Regions from separate parts of the Homo sapiens genome. Here all the other regions are linked to region 3. The links are contacts of gene promoters, found by promoter capture Hi-C in human tissues and cell types (Jung and others, 2019). All regions are on one chromosome and are shown on one strand. The core of a region is centred on a gene start or on the middle of the fragment in contact, and the rest is flanking DNA. Distances in the headings are between cores, read along the strand shown.

Region 1 (4,906 bases), core at 1,353-3,852, 350 kb before region 3:
ATTATACAGTTTTGTTACTTAAAATTTACTATTCTTGTAAAGTTTTTTTTTTAAATGTATTATTATTATACTTTTAAGTTTTAGGGTACATGTGCACAATGTGCAGGTTAGTTACATATGTATACATGTGCCATGCTGGTGTGCTGCACCCACTAACTCGTCATCTAGCATTAGGTATATCTCCCAGTGCTATCCCTCCCCCCTCCCCCCACCCCACAACCGTCCCCAGAGTGTGATGTTCCCCTTCCTGTGTCCATGTGTTCTCATTGTTCAATTCCCACCTATGAGTGAGAATATGCAGTGTTTGGTTTTTTGTTCTTGCGATAGTTTACTGAGAGTGATGATTTCCAGTTTCATCCATGTCCCTACAAAGGACATGAACTCATCATTTTTTATGGCTGCATAGTATTCCATGGTGTATATGTGCCACATTTTCTTAATCCAGTCTATCATTGTTGGACATCTGGGTTGGTTCCAAGTCTTTGCTATTGTGAATAGTGCTGCAATAAACATATGTGTGCATGTATCTTTATAGCAGCATGATTTATAGTCCTTTGGGTATATACCCAGTAATGGGATGGCTGGGTCAAATGGTATTTCTAGTTCTAGATCCCTGAGGAATCGCCACACTGACTTCCACAATGGTTGAACTAGTTTACAGTCCCACCAACAGTGTAAAAGTGTTCCTATTTCTCCACATCCTCTCCAGCACCTGCTGTTTCCTGACTTTTTAATGATTGCCATTCTAACTGGTGTGAGATGGTATCTCATTGTGGTTTTGATTTGTATTTCTCTGATGGCCAGTGATGGTGAGCATTTTTTCATGTGTTTTTTTTCCTGCATAAATGTCTTCTTTTGAGAAGTGTCTGTTCATGTCCTTCGCCCACTTGTTGATGGGGTTGTTTGTTTTTTTCTTGTAAATCTGTTTGAGTTCATTGTAGATTCTGGATATTAGCCCTTTGTCAGATGAGTAGGTTGCGAAAATTTTCTCCCATTTTGTAGGTTGCCTGTTCACTCTGATGGTAGTTTCTTTTGCTGTGCAGAAGCTCTTCCGTTTAATTAGATCCCATTTGTCAATTTTGGCTTTGGTTGCCATTGCTTTTGGTGTTTTAGACATGAAGTCCTTGCCCATGCCTATGTCCTGAATGGTAATGCCTAGGTTTTCTTCTAGGGTTTTTATGGTTTTAGGTCTAACGTTTAAGTCTTTAATCCATCTTGAATTGATTTTTGTATAAGGTGTAAGGAAGGGATCCAGTTTCAGCTTTCTACATATGGCTAGCCAGTTTTCCCAGCACCATTTATTAAATAGGGAATCCTTTCCCCATTGCTTGTTTTTCTCAGGTTTGTCAAAGATCAGATAGTTGTAGATATGCGGCATTATTTCTGAGGGCTCTGTTCTGTTCCATTGATCTATATCTCTGTTTTGGTACCAGTACCATGCTGTTTTGGTTACTGTAGCCTTGTAGTATAGTTTGAAGTCAGGTAGTGTGATGCCTCCAGCTTTGTTCTTTTGGCTTAGGATTGACTTGGCGATGCAGGCTCTTTTTTGGTTCCATATGAACTTTAAAGTAGTTTTTTCCAATTCTGTGAAGAAAGTCATTGGTAGCTTGATGGGGATGGCATTGAATCTGTAAATTACCTTGGGCAGTATGGCCATTTTCACGATATTGATTCTTCCTACCCATGAGCATGGAATGTTCTTCCATTTGTTTGTATCCTCTTTTATTTCATTGAGCAGTGGCTTGTAGTTCTCCTTGAAGAGGTCCTTCACATCCCTTGTAAGTTGGATTCCTAGGTATTTTATTCTCTTTGAAGCAATTGTGAATGGGAGTTCACTCATGATTTGGCTCTCTGTTTGTCTGTTGTTGGTGTATAAGAATGCTTGTGATTTTTGTACATTGATTTTGTATCCTGAGACTTTGCTGAAGTTGCTTATCAGCTTAAGGAGATTTTGGGCTGAGACAATGGGGTTTTCTAGATATACAATCATGTCGTCTGCAAACAGGGACAATTTGACTTCCTCTTTTCCTAATTGAATACCCTTTATTTCCTTCTCCTGCCTAATTGCCCTGGCCAGAACTTCCAACACTATGTTGAATAGGAGTGGTGAGAGAGGGCATCCCTGTCTTGTGCCAGTTTTCAAAGGGAATGCTTCCAGTTTTTGCCCATTCAGTATGATATTGGCTGTGGGTTTGTCATAGATTCAAGATAATTTAACTTCTGGCCTTTTAAAAGGTCCTTTCTTTAAAGTTTACGAGATGAGTCCCCAACAGACGCCATACTAAACACAACTAAAGTCAAGATTACTTAAGCATTAACTGTTTTATTTTTAAGTTATTTACTTATTTATCTATTTATTTGAGACGGAGTTTTGTTCTTGTTGCCCAGGCTGGAGTGCAGTGGCGCAGTCTTGGCTAACCGCAACCTCCACCTCCCAGGTTCAAGCAATTCTCTTGCCTCATCCTCCCGAGTAGCTGGGATTACAGGTATGCACCACCAAGCCCGGCTAACTTTGTATTTTTAGCAGAGATGGGTTTTCTCCATGTTGCTCAGGCTGGTCTCAATCTCCTGACCTCAGGTAATGGGCCCACCTTGGCCTCCCAAAGTGCTGGGATTACAGGCGTGAGCCACTGCGCCCGACCAAGTTATTTATAAGCTGACTCTTGAAAGGAATAATGCTTAAAAATTACTTGAAAGGAATAATGCTTAAAAATTAGAACACACAAAAAATCACCTTTTTGGTATTGTAAAAACTGTGTGCTTTTAGATGCTTTTCAACTAGCAGTCTGAAAAATAAAGTTGAGGCCGGGTGCGGTGGCTCACACCTGTAATCCCAGCACCCTGAGAGGCCGAGGCAGGCGGATCACGAGGTCAGGAGATTGAGACCATCCTGGCTAACACGGTGAAACCCCGTCTCTACTAAAAAATACCAAAAATTAGCCAGGCGTGGTAATGGGCACCTGTAGTCCCAGCTACTCGGGAGGCTGAGGCAGGAGAATGGTGTGAACCCCGGAGGTGGAGCTTGCAGTGAGCCGGGATCGCCACTGCACTCCAGCCTGGGTGACAGAGTGAGACTCCGTCTCAAAAAATAAATAAATAAATAAAGTTGAAAAAAATAATGAATATCTGAATACTGAAAAATAAGTAAGCAAATATTTCAACCTGTCAAGAGAATAAAGCTTTGTAATAATGTCTAGTAGAACAACATAGTTAACAGAATATTTTAGAGTATAAAGCCTACATCTGACTATGTAAATTACTAATCCTATCCAAAATTTTAAGAGAGGGATAGTTTGCTTAACAATACCATCCTTTCCCCATAGCTGTGGGATAGGTAGAAATAGGGGAAGTAGAAAATTCTTAAATTCAGAGTCATATTTAATTGAGTAACCATAAGATAAAATCTAATATATATTACATGTAAGAAAGCCATGATTAATTTTGTCCTATTAAAAACTACTACAGAAGGGTAGATATGAAAATTTTTTCTTTTTTCTTTTTTAAGGACAGATCAATAAGACCTCACTCTGTTGCCCAGGCTGGAGTGCAGTGGTGCCACCATAGCTCACTGTATCCTTGAACTCTTGGGCTCAAATAATCCTCCCATCATAGTCTCTCAAGTAGCTGGGTCTACAGGGACATGCCACCACGCCCAGCTAACTTAAAACATTTTTTTTGTGTGTGGAGATGGACTCTTGCTATGTTGTCCAGGCTGGTTTCCAACTCCTGGCTTCAAGCAATCTTCCTACCTCGCCCTCCCAAAGTGCTGGTATTACAGGCGTGTACAACTGCACCTGGCCTTTTTTTTTTTTTTTTTTTTTTTAAAGAGATGGGTTTGAATCCCAGGCTGGATTCAAACTCCTGGGCTCAAGTGATTCTCCTTCCTCAGCCTCCCAAGTAGCTGGGACTACAGGTGCGTGCCACTGCACCTAGCTGAAAATTAATATTCTTAATTTGATATAACATAACAAAATAATATAAACATACATACCAAAACAAAAAACATATACACCTATATTGTCTGGAGAACATGAAAGATGTTAAGAATGTAAAAAGGGATGATCTTCTATCCCCTTAAAAACAAAAAGACAAAGGATCCAATGGCCATTGTTAAACCAATAATTAGAAGTAATTTTTTTAAAGCCACAAGGCACTGCATGAATCCTGATATTAGAAATTCTTTCCACTGAGTATCTATAGAAGGAAGATCAAGTATCTGTTTCCTCTTCTCCCTTCCAACTCTGTCACCTTTTGGCCCCTTTCCTTTTCTACCTCTCTCTCTTCCTGTTTCCTTCTATCTCCCATTCCAATCCCAACTCTTTGCACTAACCAATTTCCTTTTTACCTCTCATTTTACTGCAACTGCTTAAAGCTGCCAAAAAGTTTATATTCACGGAAAGAAATACAAGCCAGAAACTTATAATGGAACAAACATTTTAATTTTTTTAAATAAAAAGATTTTTTGGGTCCTGTGTTTTACTGTAGATCATTTTTATGTTTATTCTTCTTTTCCTCCCATATCCAGCCCTCAAAGTCGCAAGTTCAAGCATCAAGCTTCCTAAGTGGTCAGGATAAAATTCAAATTATTTTGCTGAATACACAAGTCTCTTTATGAAAGAGGTGTTGTCGGCCGGGCGCAGTGGCTCACGCCTGTAACCCCAGCACTTTGGGAGGCCGAGGCAGGCAGATCACGAGCTCAGGAGATCGAGACCATCCTGGCTAACACGGTGAAACCCCGTCTCTACTAAAAAATACAAAAAATTAGCCGGGCGTGGTGGCGGGTGCCTGTAGTCCCAGCTACTCGGGAGGCTGAGGCAGGAGAATGGCGGGAACCCGGGAGGTGGAGCTTGCAGTGAGCAGAGATCATGATGCCACTGCACTTCAGCCTGGGCAACAGAGCGAGACT
Region 2 (4,725 bases), core at 2,212-4,711, 490 kb after region 3:
TTAACTTTAAAAAAAAAATCTCTAAAGCAGCCAGAAAGAAACCACTTAACTTAGAAAATACATATATTATTCACTGTGAATGAAAAAAAAAAAGATTCCATGTGTTTTCTATCCATGGGTGCCCAAGTACCTATATACTGTACCCTATGAAGCATAATCTTTATTTATTTATTTATTTATTATTATTTTGAGACAGAGTCTCACTCTGTTGCCCAGGCTGGAGTGTAGTGGCGCAATCTCAGCTCACTGAAACCACCACATCCTGGGTTCAAGTGATTCTCCTGCCTCAGCCTCCCAAGTAGGTAGGACTACAAGCACCTGCCACCATGCCCAGCTAATTTTTGTATTTTTAGTAGAGACAGGGTTTCACTATGTTGCCCAGGCTGGTCTCAAACTCCTGACCTCAAGTGATCCACCCACCTGGGCCTCCCAAAGTGCTGAGATTACAGGCGTGAGCCACCACGCCCGGCCGAAGCATAATCTTTAAACAGGAGGTTGCATAAACTTGGGGAAAAGATTTCTCAGATGTACCTCAACTACCTATTTCTAAAACCAGAAAAATGCCAGAAACCTTATCCAGATAAACAGCATAACTCCCTTGTCCATGATTCATCAACAAGAACACTGAATTGGCTGCACAGGGAGACAGCACTGAACAAGACTATAGGAGCTACACAGTCCCCATCCATGCAAAGCAAGAGGCAGTTTACCGTTTCCAAAATGACCCCTCTTATCAGCTGTGCCAGAAGCCCAGTATCCGCAGGCTCTGAGAAAAAGCCTGGCACAGAGTAAGCAATCAAACATTGGCGGAAAACATGAAAAGCTTCAGATCTCCTGGTGTCTCTCTAGTAATTTTTTTTAATAGAGATGGGATCTTGCTATGTTGCCTAGGCTGATCTTGAAACCTAGGTTCAAGCAATCCTGCCACCTCAGCCTCCCAAAGTGTTGAGATTATAGATGTGAGCCACCGTGCCCAGCCTCTAGCACATTTGTGCCCTTAAGAAACAAGAAATTGGCCGGAGGAGTGGCTCACACCTGTAATCCCAGCACTTTGGGAGGCCAAGGTGGGAGGATCACTTGAGCTCAAGAGTTTGAGACCAATGTGAGTAACATAGTGAGAACCCATCTCTAATAAAGAAAGAAAAAATAATCATAGAAGTTAAAAATACAAGAAATTGAAATTGAACATCTGAACTCTGGCATTGCCTCTGTTTTAAATGTTGCTCTACATGGGAATCCCCACCCCCAGTGTCTAAAAAAATACATACCCATAGCAAATTTAGGTAATCCTATTTAAAAAAAAAATATTTCAAGTATAACTACAATCTTTAAGATTCCCTGGCTGGGCACAGTGGCTCATGCCTATAATCCCAACACTTTGGAAGGCCAAGGTGGGAGGACTGGTTGAGACCAGGAGTTTGAGACCAGCCTGGGCAACATAAGGAAACACTGTTTCTACAAAAAAATATTAAAAAATTAGCTGGGTGTGGTGGCTCATGCCTGTGGTCCCAGCCACCCAGGGGTCTGAGGTGGGAGGATTGCCTGAGCCCCGGAAGTCAAGGCTGCAGTGACCTGAGATCTGAGATCACTCCACTGCACTCCAGCCGGGCCCACAGAATGAGAACTTGCCTAAAAAAAAAAAAAAAAAAAAAAAAAGATTCCCTTTAGAATGAATGTACTGGTCAGTAACCACTATACCAAAAGCAGACCAGGCCACTGAAATGTAATTTGACTAGGAAGTGGGCAGGCAGGGCTTGTGTTACCCTGCCCAAGGCAATGATGAATTAACCTAATCTCATGGCACAATAAAGCCATGTAAAGCCTGGCAGGATGAAAGTCCAGAAGGCTTGCTCAATTCTCAACAGCACTATCCTTTTCTTCAACTTTGGGAGGACACCAGGAGGGGGCAGAAGCAAATGGGATGCCCAGCAGACATTTCTGGAAGGTTGAAAGGCACCCTCTCCTGGAGTCCACTGAGGCAGCAGCAGCAGGATCAATGGCACCCATGCTCAATCTAAATTGAAAACCCTAGATTTGGTCCCACTGCTCCCTCCAAAATTCTTTTTCCATTCCCACCAGCTTGGCCTGGTCTCTGCTCTTCTAGGAGTCTCCTCAAGCCTCTGCTGTGCTTTGCTAGGAGGGGAACCTTCCTAAATACCCATCTGCCTGTTGGAATTCTACCAGCCCCTGTGGCCTAACCACTTACATCTTCCACAAAACTGTCCTTGAGACTCAATTAACAGCCTTTTCTGACTACCCTGACTACAAAGGCATTCATGAGCTGGACCACCCCTTGCAGTCACTAATTATATATGATCTTTAAACATTTCTTTTAAAAAATTTTTTTTAATAAAAAAATGTATTTTTTATTTTTATTTTGTAGAGACAGTCTTGCTTTGTTGCCCAGGCTGGTGTCAAACTCCTGGCTTCAAGCAATCCTCCCACCCTGGTCTCCCAAAGAGTGAGCCACCATACCAGGTCAAAGGTTTCTAATTGACTTGCTCTCATTTGCTGTGATAATCATTTGCTTGCTCTTCCATCATTCACATGTTTAAAGCCCTACCAGAGTTCTGATGTAGTGCACTCCTCCATATGGATACTTTGTCTTTTGATGCACATAGTCTGTTTTCATCGCTAATTTATTCCTTTAATAGATTCAGTACTTTCTCCCTGTGTGTAAATGATAAAAGTATTTACCTTGACCATAACAGCTCCTGTGTCACCCCTAGGGCTCACTCCAGGTGGGCTCCAATGGAAACAGGTTTAAGGACTATGGCAGAAACTGCCAATTTTCCTCAGCATCCTTTTTCTCCTTTATCCTTTTAGTCATTGACACTCACTGCTCACCCTACACTCCACCCCTACTCCATGTCAATTTTCAATTGTAAGTAGAAGCTTCCAGGTTCCCTTGCAGCTAGATGTGGCTGTGTTTGGGCCAATGGTATATAAGTGGAGGTGATATATGCAACTTCCAGTCGTTTGGCCTCCACTTCCTCTGTTATCCCCTTCCCCAATCTAGGATGGAATGTAGAGGTGGTGGTGGTGAGCTGGCTAGCTTAGACCACGCTGATGAGGGCAGCCCCCAAGGTCTTGCTACTCTGCCTATGGTCTAAGGAACTGCAACATCAGTACCGCCTGGGAGCTGGTTAGAAATGTAGAATCTGGCCGGGTGCGGTGGCTCAAGCCTGTAATCCCAGCACTTTGGGAGGCTGAGGCGGGTGGATCACCTGAGGTCGGGAGTCTGAGACCAGCCTAACCAAAATGGAGAAACACCGTCTCTACTGAAAATACAAAATTAGCTGGGCGTGGTGGCACATGCCCATAGTCCCAGCTACTCAGGAGGCTGAGGCGGGAGAATCGCTTGAACCTGTTAAGCAGAGGGTGCAGTGAGCTGAGATCACACCATTGCACTCCAGCCTCGGCAACAAGAGCGAAACTCCATCTCAAAAAAAAAAAAAAAAAAAAAAGAAATGCAGAATCTGTGGCCCTATGCCAGACCTCCTGGATCAGATTTCCCAGTTCAAAAAGAGGCCCAGATGATTTGTATGCTCTCAAGCTTGGGATGCACTGTCTTGAAGAATGAAAAGAGACAAGGTAGAAGAAACCTGGGTCCCCTGTTGACTTCATGGCCTTCCCATCTTAGACCATTTACCTCTGAAATGTTCAGTAAGAGACAAACTTCTATTTTATGGAGGCTGGCATAACTTGGGAGTCTCTTTCCCACATCAGCTAACCTATATCCTTATTAATATAAGAACAAAAATCATTTCCAGGAAATAAACCTCCTCCATTTTTTTAAGTCAAAGGCTGAGTCACTTGCCAGCTGGACTTACTTAGCAAAGCAAGAATTCCTCCAAGAATCCCCAGAATGGCAGGAATTTGCAATCCTGCTTCGACAGGCTGTGCCTTCCTACAGACGCCAGCGGCCCCTTCACAGTCACACACGCTGACCTCTAAGGTGGTCACTTGGTCTTTATTCTGGTTATCCATGAGCTTGAGATTGATTTTGTAGTCACCCACCTCTAAGGCCATCTTTGGCTTCAAAATGATAGATTCTTGGGCTGGAGAAAGCAATAAAAAGAAATGATGAGACCAGGGGAGGAAAATAAAAAGCTCATTCCAGAATAAAATTGCTAGTGAACTAAAGACACCCGCAAGCCGAGTGAAGAGAGCAGAGCTGCTTGGGTTTTATTTAGGTATGTACTTTTTTTTTTTTTTTTTTGCTGTAAAAAGCTTTATTTCCATTTGGTCTAAGGCTTGGGAGAGGGCTCTAGAGTTGGTTTAAAAAAGCTGCCTAGTGGCTGGAGGGAGAGGCTTAGGCAGAGCGGGGCTCTTCAGATGTCGCTGGGTTCGGTAGGCTCCCGTGTGCCTGAGGGTGAACCTTTTTGCCCAGCCCGGCCTGGAGGCCGGCTGGCCTGTGAAGGTTGGTCAGGTGGTCACCTATCTTCTTGATGAGTTTTACTTTTTCATCTAGGAAGTGGCTCTCCAGGAAGTCACAGATATGGGGGTCTGTGCAGGTGGAACCCAAGGCATGAAGATCCAAAAGGGTCCAGTTCAGGTTCTTCTCCAGGGCCAGAGTGACTTCCATCGCACCCAGGGTTTTACCCCATTCATCTTTACATGGCTTCTGGATGTCCGGGAAGACAGTGCGGCCGCCACACTGGTTTTGCATTTTCAAGGGACACTCAGCGCCCTTGTGCTTCTCCTTGGCCAATTTGTGGAAGA
Region 3 (4,466 bases), core at 1,712-4,211:
CCCTCCTTTTGGAAATTCTAGTAATACACCTAAGAGTGTGCTGGGGCTGGGCACGGTGGCTCATGCCTGTAATCCCAGCACTTTGGGACGCGGAGGCGGGCGGATCACCGGAGGTCAGGAGATTGAGACCATCCTGGCTAACACAGTGAAGCACCATCTCTACTAAAAATACAAAAAGTTAGCCGGGTGTGGTGACGCGTGCCTGTAGTTACGGCTACTTGGGAGGCTGAGGCAGGAGAATTGCTTGAACCCAGGAGGTGGAGGCTGCAGAGAACCGAGATCACACCAGAGCAAGAGTCCATCTCAAAAAAAAAAAAAAAAAAAAGAGTGCACTGGACTTTTCTGGCAGCCACATACAGTTTTTCACACACAGGGGGTCCAAGTTTCAATGGAGAGAAACAGTTTTACAGAACAGGAGGGTAAGGTGAGAAACTGCCAGCCCCGCCGCATCTCTAGTAACACGTATGGCAAAAGATGAGGATGAAAGAAAAGAGTGCTAATGGGGGCTGGCAAATGCTTACTGTAAAGGACCAGATGGTAAATAATTTAGGATTTGCCAGCCAGATAATCTCTGTAGCAACGACTCAACTCTACCTTGATGGCACAAAAGCAGCTGTAGACAGTATATCAATAAACGAACAGGGATGTGTTCCAATAAAACTTTATTTATAGACCCTGAAATGTGAATTTCATAGGATTTTCATGTGTCATGAAATACTGTTTTTCAAGCCATTTAAAAAATGTAAAAACCTATGACATTATGTTAAGTCATAATGAAAGAAGCTAGCCACAAAGGACCACCTATTGTATGACTCTGTTTATATAAAGTGGGTTTCTCTGTAGGCAAACCCACAGAGAAAAAAAGTAGATTAGCAGTGGTTGCCCAGGGCTGGGAGAGAGAGGGGTTGTGGGTGAGGGGTTTCTTTTGGAGGTGATGAAAATATTCTAAAAAGTGATTATGGTGATGGTCACACAACCATGAATATACTAAAAGCACTGAATTATACACTTTAAATGGGTGAGTTGCGCTGGGCACAGTGGCTCACATCTGTAATCCCAGCACTTTGGGCGGCCGAGGTGGGCAGATCACACTTGAAGTCAGGAGTTCGAAACCAGCCTGGCCAACATGGTGAAACCCCGTCTCTACTAAAAATACAAAAAAATATTAGCTGGGTGTGATGGGAGGTGCCTGTAATCCCAGCTACTTGGGAGGCTGAGGCAGGAGAATCACTTGAACCCAGGAGGCGGAGGCCGCAATGAGTTGAGATTGTGCCACTGCACTCCAGCCTGGGTGACAGAATGAGACTGTCTCAAAAAAAAAAATTAATAAAAACAAAAATATATAACGGGTGAGTTATATGGTAAGCACGCAAGTTATACCTTAATAAAGCTGTGTTTAGGCCAGACCCGTGGCTCACACCTGTAATCCCAGCACTCTGGGAGGCCGAAGTGGGCAGATCATCTGAGGTCGGGAGTTCGAGACCAGCCTGGCCAACACGGTGAAACCCGGTCTCTACTAAAAATACAAAAATTAGCCGGGCGTGGTTGCGGGTGCCCGTAATCCCAGCTACTCAGGAGGCTGAGGCAGGAGAATCGCTTGAACCTGAGAGGCAGAGGCTGCAGTGAGCCAAGATCACACCACTGCACTCCAGTCTGGGTGACAGAGTGAGACTCCATCTCAAAAAAATAAATAAATAAAATTTAAAAATAAATAAATACACCTGTGTTTGAAACTGAAAAACATTCTCGGTTCACGGGCCATAAAAAACCTGCCTGGGCAGACGGGATCTGCGGCTTCTGCTGGTGGTACGGTGGGATCTGGCTATGGACTCTTAATTCCTAACCTGGTACCCCAACTCATTCCATGTCTGCTCCTACTTCTGCCCTCCTCCACCTCCAGGTCTCTGAATGCTACTGGAACTCTGATGTCCCTTCTTCCATGAAGTCTTGCCTAACTCTCCCAGGCACTTTGTTGGCTGTCACTTAATGGACACCTACTATGTGCCAGACATACAAGAATGCTTTACCGTAATTATTCAATTTAAAGCTATCATCACAACAACCTAGAGGGCATTACCCCATTTTACAGACCAGGAAACTCGAGACCCGAAGATGAAAAAAAAAAACTAGCCCAAGGTCACTTGCTGGTGAGTGGCAGAGCTGAGATTCAAACCCCGGAATGAGGCCTGAGCATGTTGATCTCTTCTGGCCCCGCAGGACTGACAGCACCTAGAGGGTGGGTCAGTTGTTCACCCAGGTGGCGCCATCCCAGCACCACCCTGCAGGATCTAGGGAATGAATGAAGGGTCGCTGGCCGAGAAGAGGAAGTCGAAGATTGGGGAAGGGGCCGGGGCTTGTTCGAAGTGAGGTCGAGGGACTTCCAGGACCCGGGACAGGAGAGGAGGGAGCGAGACAGGAGAGGAGGGAGCGAGCATCGCTGTCTGAACGCCCAGCCGGACCCCGGGCCGAGCTTCCTGAGGGTGCCTGTGCGGCTCGGGTGAGGCTGATCCCCACGGCGGTACCGGGGCGCCGGCTACACGAAGCGGCCCTGGGGCTGGGCCAGCCGGGCAGGGCCGGAAGGCCTGAGGGTGGAGATGCCACCCGGCTCCGAGCGCGTGGAAACAGACACGGGCGGAAGCGGCGAGGGGGCGGCCGGAGCGGGGTCGCGAGGCCGGGGCTGGGAGGCGCCCACCTGACCACCCGCCCGCCGCCCGGCTCTGCGGCCCGCAGGCCCCGCTGCCTTCGGCCTCCGAAGTCGGGCCGGGCCGCACGAAGTACCTGGAGGGTTGACGTTGTCATTTCATCTCCTGGGTCCGCCCCACACCCCGCGGCGCTGCTTGCGGCCTCGGTCCGGCCCCGGGGAGCCGAGGTACTGGGTCCGGCGCGGGAAGCCCGGCGGTGGGCGCTGAGCGCGGTGCGCGGGCAGGGCGGCCGCTCGCAGCGGGAGCCGAGTCCGAGGGCAAGCGAGGAGCGCAGCCCAGAGCGGTCGGGCCCGAGCCGAGCGGCTGCCCCCTAGCGTCCACGGCTCGCACTGCAGGCACCTCTCCCTGCCTCGGCGAAGGCAGGGGGCGGTTCGAGAGGCAGGACTGACTGGGGACGAGGAGGTGGGACTAGGGCGAGACGGACAGGGGGCGGGGACGGGGTGGGTGGGACAAGGCCGGGGCGGGGCCTGGCGGGACGTACATTCTCGGGGCGGGGCCAGGGGCGGAGCGGGGTAGAATCCGGAAATCCTGACCTCGCTTGGAATAACAGCGCCCATTGAGCAGTTTTATTCTCACAATAAAACGAACTTATCAGAGCGTTGGTTTCTCCATGTTTAATATCGCACGATCATAATTAGTACCTGCCTTGTCTGGCTTTTGTGGGGAATAAATGAGCTAGCTAATGTAAACAGAGTGTGCCCCACACTGGGGCTCAATCCCTGGTGGGATGCCGCTGACTGTTCAAAGCCAGTTTTGTTTTGCTTGGATTGATTGACTGATTGATTGATACGGAGTCTTGCTCTGTCGCCTAGGCTGGAGTGCAGTGGCATGATCTCGGCTCATTGCGACCTCCGCCTCCCGGGTTCAAGCGATTCTCCTGCTTCAGCCTCCCGAGTAGCTGGGATTACAGGCATGCACACCTACTGTGTGCAGCGTTGTGTGCTAGTTTCTGGGGATACAATGATCAAAGCAGTTCTAGGGCTGGGTGTACTGGCCCACGCCTGTAATTCCAGCACTTTGGGAGGCCAAGGCAGGAGGATTGCTTGAGCCGAGGATCAAGACCAGCTTGGGCAACATAGTAAGACCTCGTCGCTAAATTAAGAAACAAAACAAAACAAACAAACAAAAAAACGCACCAGAGGCAAGTGATCCATTTGTCCACAAGTCTATCCTGTGAGAGAAAAAAAATGGAGGGCAAAAAACATCCAAGTTGAGGCTGGGTATGGGGGCTCATGCCTGTAATCCCAACACTTTGGGAAGCCGAGGCAGGCCGATTGCTTGGGCCGAGGAATTCGAGAACAGCCTCGGCAACAGGTGAACCCCCATCGCTACAAAAAATAAAAAACGTATCTGGGCATGGTGGCGCACACCTGTAGTCCCAGCTACTCCGTAAGCTGAGTTGGGAGAATTGCTGGAGCCTGGGAGGTCGAGGCTGTAGTGAGCCGTGACCAGGCCATTGTACTCCACCCTGGGAAATGAAGCAAGACCCTGCCTCCAAAAAAAAAAAAAAAAAAAAAAAAAAAAAAAAAAAAAAAAAACCAAAAAATTGGCACACCTTAATCTCTCTTCACAAAATGCTAATTAAATACAAAGGAGAGGCCGGGCGCGGTGGCTCACGCCTATAATCCCAGTACTTTGGGAGGCCGAGGCAGGTGGATCACTTGAGGTCAGGAGTTCAAGACCAGCCTGGCCAACATGGTGAAACCCTGTCTCTACTAAAAATACAAAATATTCGCCGGCCATGGTGGTGGGCACCTGTAATCC
Region 4 (4,888 bases), core at 1,501-4,000, 380 kb before region 3:
TTAATTCTGCCAGCTGGAAACTCAAATAGATTCTCAGTCATCACTGTTATTAGGAATATAAAATATGAAGATGTTAACATTGGTGGTTAGTTACTGCAACAAGCAGCATAGGTGTGCTCTTTTGCAGTCAGAGTAAAATCTATCAGTTTACTCAAACACAGTTTTTTATATTTTGTTTTGTTTTTAAAGTAATAATTCTCATGGAACCACAAGATCTCAGGACATCTTGGAATCAGGATTTTCTTCGTGGAATTTCTAAAAAAGAGAAAAAGTTTAATTTAACTTACTAGGGAGGGAAGCATTTATAAAGTTTCTGACACCCTGAATGATCCTAAAGTATATTATGGTACTGTAAGTAAAACTTTATCATATTTGATCTTCCACAGACTTTTCTGACTCAATATTTATTTCTGGAGGAAGGGATAAGTGAGGCATGGTTATATCCAATATATAGTACAAAGGAAACACATTTTGCATACTCATCAGATGTTTTGTTATTCCAAGGCAAAGAAGCTCAGAGGCAGAAGGAATGTCCAATATAGGTTGAGTATCCCTTATCTAAAATGTTTGGGATCAGAAGTGTTTCTGATTTCTTTTTTGGATTTTGGAATATGCACATATACACAATGAGATATCTTGGGGATAAGACACAAGTCCAAACATGAAATTCACTTCTGTTTCACATACACCTAAAAAAATCTATCACAGCTGAAGGGAGCTGGAAGGATCTTTTTTACCCTTGGGGACACCAAATAAACTGCATGTTGTGAGCCTGACTTTTGACTATGACCCTATCATATGAGGTTAGGTGTGGAATTTTCCACTTGAGATGTCATGTCAGCACTCAAAAAGATTCGGATTTCAGAGCATTTTGGATTTTGGATTTTTGGACTAGGGATGTTTGGTCTGTATTTTTTTTTTTTTTTGTATTTTTTAGTAGAGACGGGGTTTCACCATGTTAGCCAGGATGGTCTCGATCGCCTGACCTCGTGATCCGCCCACCTTGGTCTCTCAAAGTGCTGGGATTACAGGCATGAGCCACCACGCCCGGCCTGGTCTGTATTAACTATATGACCATAAGCTATCATTCAGAATAATTTTATTCAGAGTAAAAAAGTATCATCTTGTGAGAAAGCCACATTTTAAAAGATTAGAACTACTATTACTTAACCTAAATCTGTTAAGAAGAATAAAATCTGATGCTTTTCAATAAGAAGCCAAAATGCAATACTTACATATCCAGTTAAAAGGAGCCAGTCAAGTTGTTCCCTTGGTTTTGCAATGAAACAAGCAAATCAATCTTTTCGATGTTCTGGTTGGTGTTTATAGAGGATGCCAGTGGAGAATTCTCTGGCATTTGCTGAGAAAGAAGTGTTGTCACAGGTGGCTGGCCCTCGTTTTGTGGTTGGCCTGGCTGACTTATGGCCATCAACTGATCAGGCAATGTAGCTGGTCCAGAGGTTAAAAGCTGACTACAGTCTGCAGAGACATTGAAAACAGAAGCTTAAAAGCTGACTACAGTCTGCAGAAACATTAAAAATAGAAGCTATCTGATTAGTAAAGATTCATGAAAAGATATTTATTAGTTGTTGGGGAAAATTCATTACTGCATTCTCCTTGTATATTACTAAAAGTTAGGCACCTGATAGTCCAAGAAAAAGGTTTTCACAGACTGGCACTGGAATTCATCTTAGGTTTCCTTTAAGCAGTCTAAAAATACAACTTTGCTTAAATATCAAAAGTCCTATATAAATTCCTTGGTATATAAACATTAAAGATGAGTTTCTACCTCCTTAGAAACTACTTACTTCAACTGGGTAAGGTATTATCTGTCATTCTGACTTCATTTTCCTTTTAAGTTTATAGCTTAAAATGGCAAACACACATTTTTATACATTGCCATATTTAATCCTCCCCAAATCCATGTAAAGTATGTAATATTATCACCATTTTAAATGAGAGAATTGAGACCCATAAAAGCCAAATAACTTGTACAAGATCTTATAGTCTATAGGTGATAGAGTTCTAACTACAATCTGTACTCTTAAAACAACTATACAGGACAGGTGTGGTGGCTCACGCCTGTAATCCCAGCACTTTGGGAGGCCGAGGCCAGCGGATCACTTGAGGTCAAAAATTCAACACCAGCCTGGCCAACATGGTGAAACCCCGCCTCTAACAAAAATACAAAAATTAGCTGGGCGTGGTTGTGCACACCTGTAATCCCAGCTGCTTGGGAGGCTGAGGCAGGAGAATCACCTGAACCTGGGAGGCAGAGGGTGCAGGTGCAGTGAGCTGAGATCGCACCACTGCACTCTGCTTCCTTCTAATAATAATAATGACCAATTAAGTAATGAAAAATTAGAGTTTCTTACTATTTTGAATGCCAAATAAGAACATTCCTGATGTCTGCTGAGATGAGCCAGGAGAATTCTGCAGTTGGTTCATTGTGCCTCCTGCTGTGTTGTGAAATAAAGTAGCCTGTGGTTGAGGCGAAGATGTGGCTCCTTGAATTCCAGGCATGTTGTTCTGAGGGGAATAAAGAGGAGACTGTTGCATATCTTGTTGATTTATACTGGTCTGCAAGGCAGACATGGATGCTGGAGATAAGAAGAGAGTTACTTGCTGCTCTTGAGAACTAGGTGACCCTTGTACCAACTGAATCTGAGGAGAGCTATGGAACAAGGGGGTCTGTGATGATTCCGACTGGGTAGGACCTGGGTTCTGAAGTGAGGAAACTGTGGACTGACTCTGAAATTGCATGGGCTGTTGCTCTTGATTCATTGGGGCCATGTTACTTTGTTGGTGAAAAATTGACTGGTTCTGTTGCTCCTGATTAGCCATTGGATTTTGATTTGGGTTGAATATCATGTTTGGTGGTGGTTGCTTTGGAGACGCCATTGTAGCCATGGTATTCTGATTACTGAATAAAATGCTCTGTTGTTGTTGCTGCTGCTGTTGCTGCTGCTGTTGCTGCTGCTGCTGCTGTTCCTGGGATGGAGAGTTACTCTGCATGGCAACTATTGAGTGCTGTGACTGGAACATGGTTCCTTGTTGGCTTTGAGGCATTGGATTAGGTGGAAGGGAGCCCAGGGCCACCTGAGGCTGAAATAAACCCTGCTGCGGGGGTTGTGCCTGTTCTTGGGAAAGCATAGGAGTCTGGATGTGTGATATTGGAGCTTGCTGTTGGAAAGCAGCTTGTTGTTCACTGTTTGATGTTGACTGAAGTGGAGAAATTGAGTTCGGTGCTGCAAAAAATGCTTCTTGGGCTACTGTGTTAGTCTGAAGATTATTCATGGGACTCTGGGAAAGAAATATGTTGGTTGACTGCTGGTCTTGAGGAACTGAAGAGCCCTGTAACACAGCAATGGTACTTTGAGAGTGAAACATTGGAGGCTGCATTTGTTCAGAGGAGGTTGTAGAAGTCTGACTGTGGACAATAGGATTTGGACTATGAAAGAGAGAACCTTGAGTTTCCTGGGAAAGGTTCTGAGCATCGGCAATAGGATTTTGAGGATGAAAAAGTTGGGCCTGTGAATGAGAAGACTGCTGCAAAAAATTTCCAGATTGAAGTGACATCATCTCATTCCCTTGCTGGAATAAACCATTACCTTGTTGTTGGGTACCACTATTCTGAACACTCATCATACTTTTTGTGGATGAAAAAAGGTTAACTTGAGGTTGATTGTCCCCACTATGTTGCATTTGGACCATGGTCTGAAAGACACTGTTCTGAATCTGTTTTGCTTGTGTTCCAGTTTCTTCTCCATCTCCTGAACTTGATGTCTGAAACATGGTAGTGCCAGGGGTTGCAACCTGCTGTGTGGTAGTTGTAGAAGTTTCATTTCCAGAAACTGCAGGAGGAGAAGAAAACAATTCACACTGCATTTGCATATCCTCATTGGTAGACAATGCACTCATCATGTGAGAAGTCTGCTGGTAAACTGGCGATTGCTGAAGGTTTCCATTTGCTGAAGCAGTTGAAGGGAATAACTCTGACTGAATCTGGGCAGCTGCCTGGCAGATACTCTGTTGCATCTCCATCACCATTGCGGCTGAAGATTCCATCACTTGCTGTTGCTGCTGCTGCTGCTGCTGTTGATTAGATAACGTGTTTTCAGACTGTGGATGAACACTTTCAGCTCTTCCAGGTAATAAATTATCTGGTCTGGTATGGACTGTTGGCTCTGTTGAGGAAAACATTCCAGGGCTTACACCACTCTGAATTTGACTGACTTGTTGAAAAATATCTGCACTAAGCTGCTCTTGAACATTCTCATTACCATCTGGAGCAGAAAATAAAACTGAAGATAACTGCTGCTGTGCCTCTAAAACTTGTTGGACCAAGTCAACACTTCCACTGCTGCCACTAGCAGTACTGCCTGTGAAACTCCCTGCTTGCAGCTGCTGAATAGTATTCTGAAGCTGACTCACACTATTTGGTGATGGAAAAATATTTGATGAAATCTGCTGCTGTAAAGTCTGTGCTTGTTCTTGTAGTGGTGACTGCTGCTGTTGTTGTGATGCCTCAGTCAGTTGTGACAAATTAACCACTGTACCATCTGACTGTAATATCTCTCTAGACTGAGTTTCTCTTGTCTGAAACTGTGTAGCCTGCTGCAATAGTGCATCGCTGTTGGGCAGCTGACTAGAAGCAGAAACTGCTGGAAAAGTACCAGGCTGTGAGATGTCCTGGGTTTGAATAGTTGTCAGGGTCTCTGGGTTGTATGCCTTGGGCTGAATCTGCTGCTGTTTTTCATTTTCAGAAGGTAGGTGGGAAGATGATGGTGATGAAAAAGAGCCATTTCCTGCTATGTTTGAGATGTTTTCTAATGTTTGCTGAGTTGATCCAACAGACTTTGTAGTCTAAAAAATAAAAATCCCCAAA

What was found. The method cuts DNA at HindIII sites, captures the fragments that hold promoters and counts their contacts. A contact is called where the count stands out against the background at its distance.
Region 1: a contact is called between a fragment that was not itself captured here and the fragment with the promoter of VPS4A in region 3, in 2 of the 25 tissues and cell types used here (dorsolateral prefrontal cortex and heart left ventricle).
Region 2: a contact is called between a fragment that was not itself captured here and the fragment with the promoter of VPS4A in region 3, in 1 of the 25 tissues and cell types used here (thymus).
Region 4: a contact is called between a fragment that was not itself captured here and the fragment with the promoter of VPS4A in region 3, in 1 of the 25 tissues and cell types used here (lymphoblastoid cells).

What each region holds. Positions count from the first base shown.
Region 1 is chr16:69,662,482-69,667,387 of GRCh38, reverse strand. All of the region lies in intron 7 of NFAT5 (nuclear factor of activated T cells 5), which reads right to left. Among named protein-coding and RNA genes, the nearest start is that of SNORD13H, 44 kb to the left of the region's middle. The HindIII fragment of the contact is 4,649 bases long and covers 278-4,906 here.
Region 2 is chr16:68,822,735-68,827,459 of GRCh38, reverse strand. It overlaps CDH1 (cadherin 1), which reads right to left. Exons shown (of 16, transcript NM_004360.5): 13 at 3,834-4,061. It also overlaps the pseudogene FTLP14. Among named protein-coding and RNA genes, the nearest start is that of TANGO6, 18 kb to the left of the region's middle. The HindIII fragment of the contact is 3,204 bases long and covers 1,860-4,725 here.
Region 3 is chr16:69,309,845-69,314,310 of GRCh38, reverse strand. VPS4A (vacuolar protein sorting 4 homolog A) reads right to left here and starts at 2,961. Exons shown (of 11, transcript NM_013245.3): 1 at 2,779-2,961. The coding sequence starts at 2,799. RefSeq lists silencers at 2,497-3,046, 3,107-3,246 and enhancers at 2,189-3,138, 3,139-4,089. The HindIII fragment of the contact is 10,929 bases long and covers 1-4,466 here.
Region 4 is chr16:69,691,727-69,696,614 of GRCh38, reverse strand. It overlaps NFAT5 (nuclear factor of activated T cells 5), which reads right to left. Exons shown (of 15, transcript NM_138713.4): 13 at 2,376-4,866; 14 at 1,236-1,479; 15 at 1-255. The coding sequence ends at 1,244. Among named protein-coding and RNA genes, the nearest start is that of SNORD13H, 15 kb to the left of the region's middle. The HindIII fragment of the contact is 7,332 bases long and covers 1-4,888 here.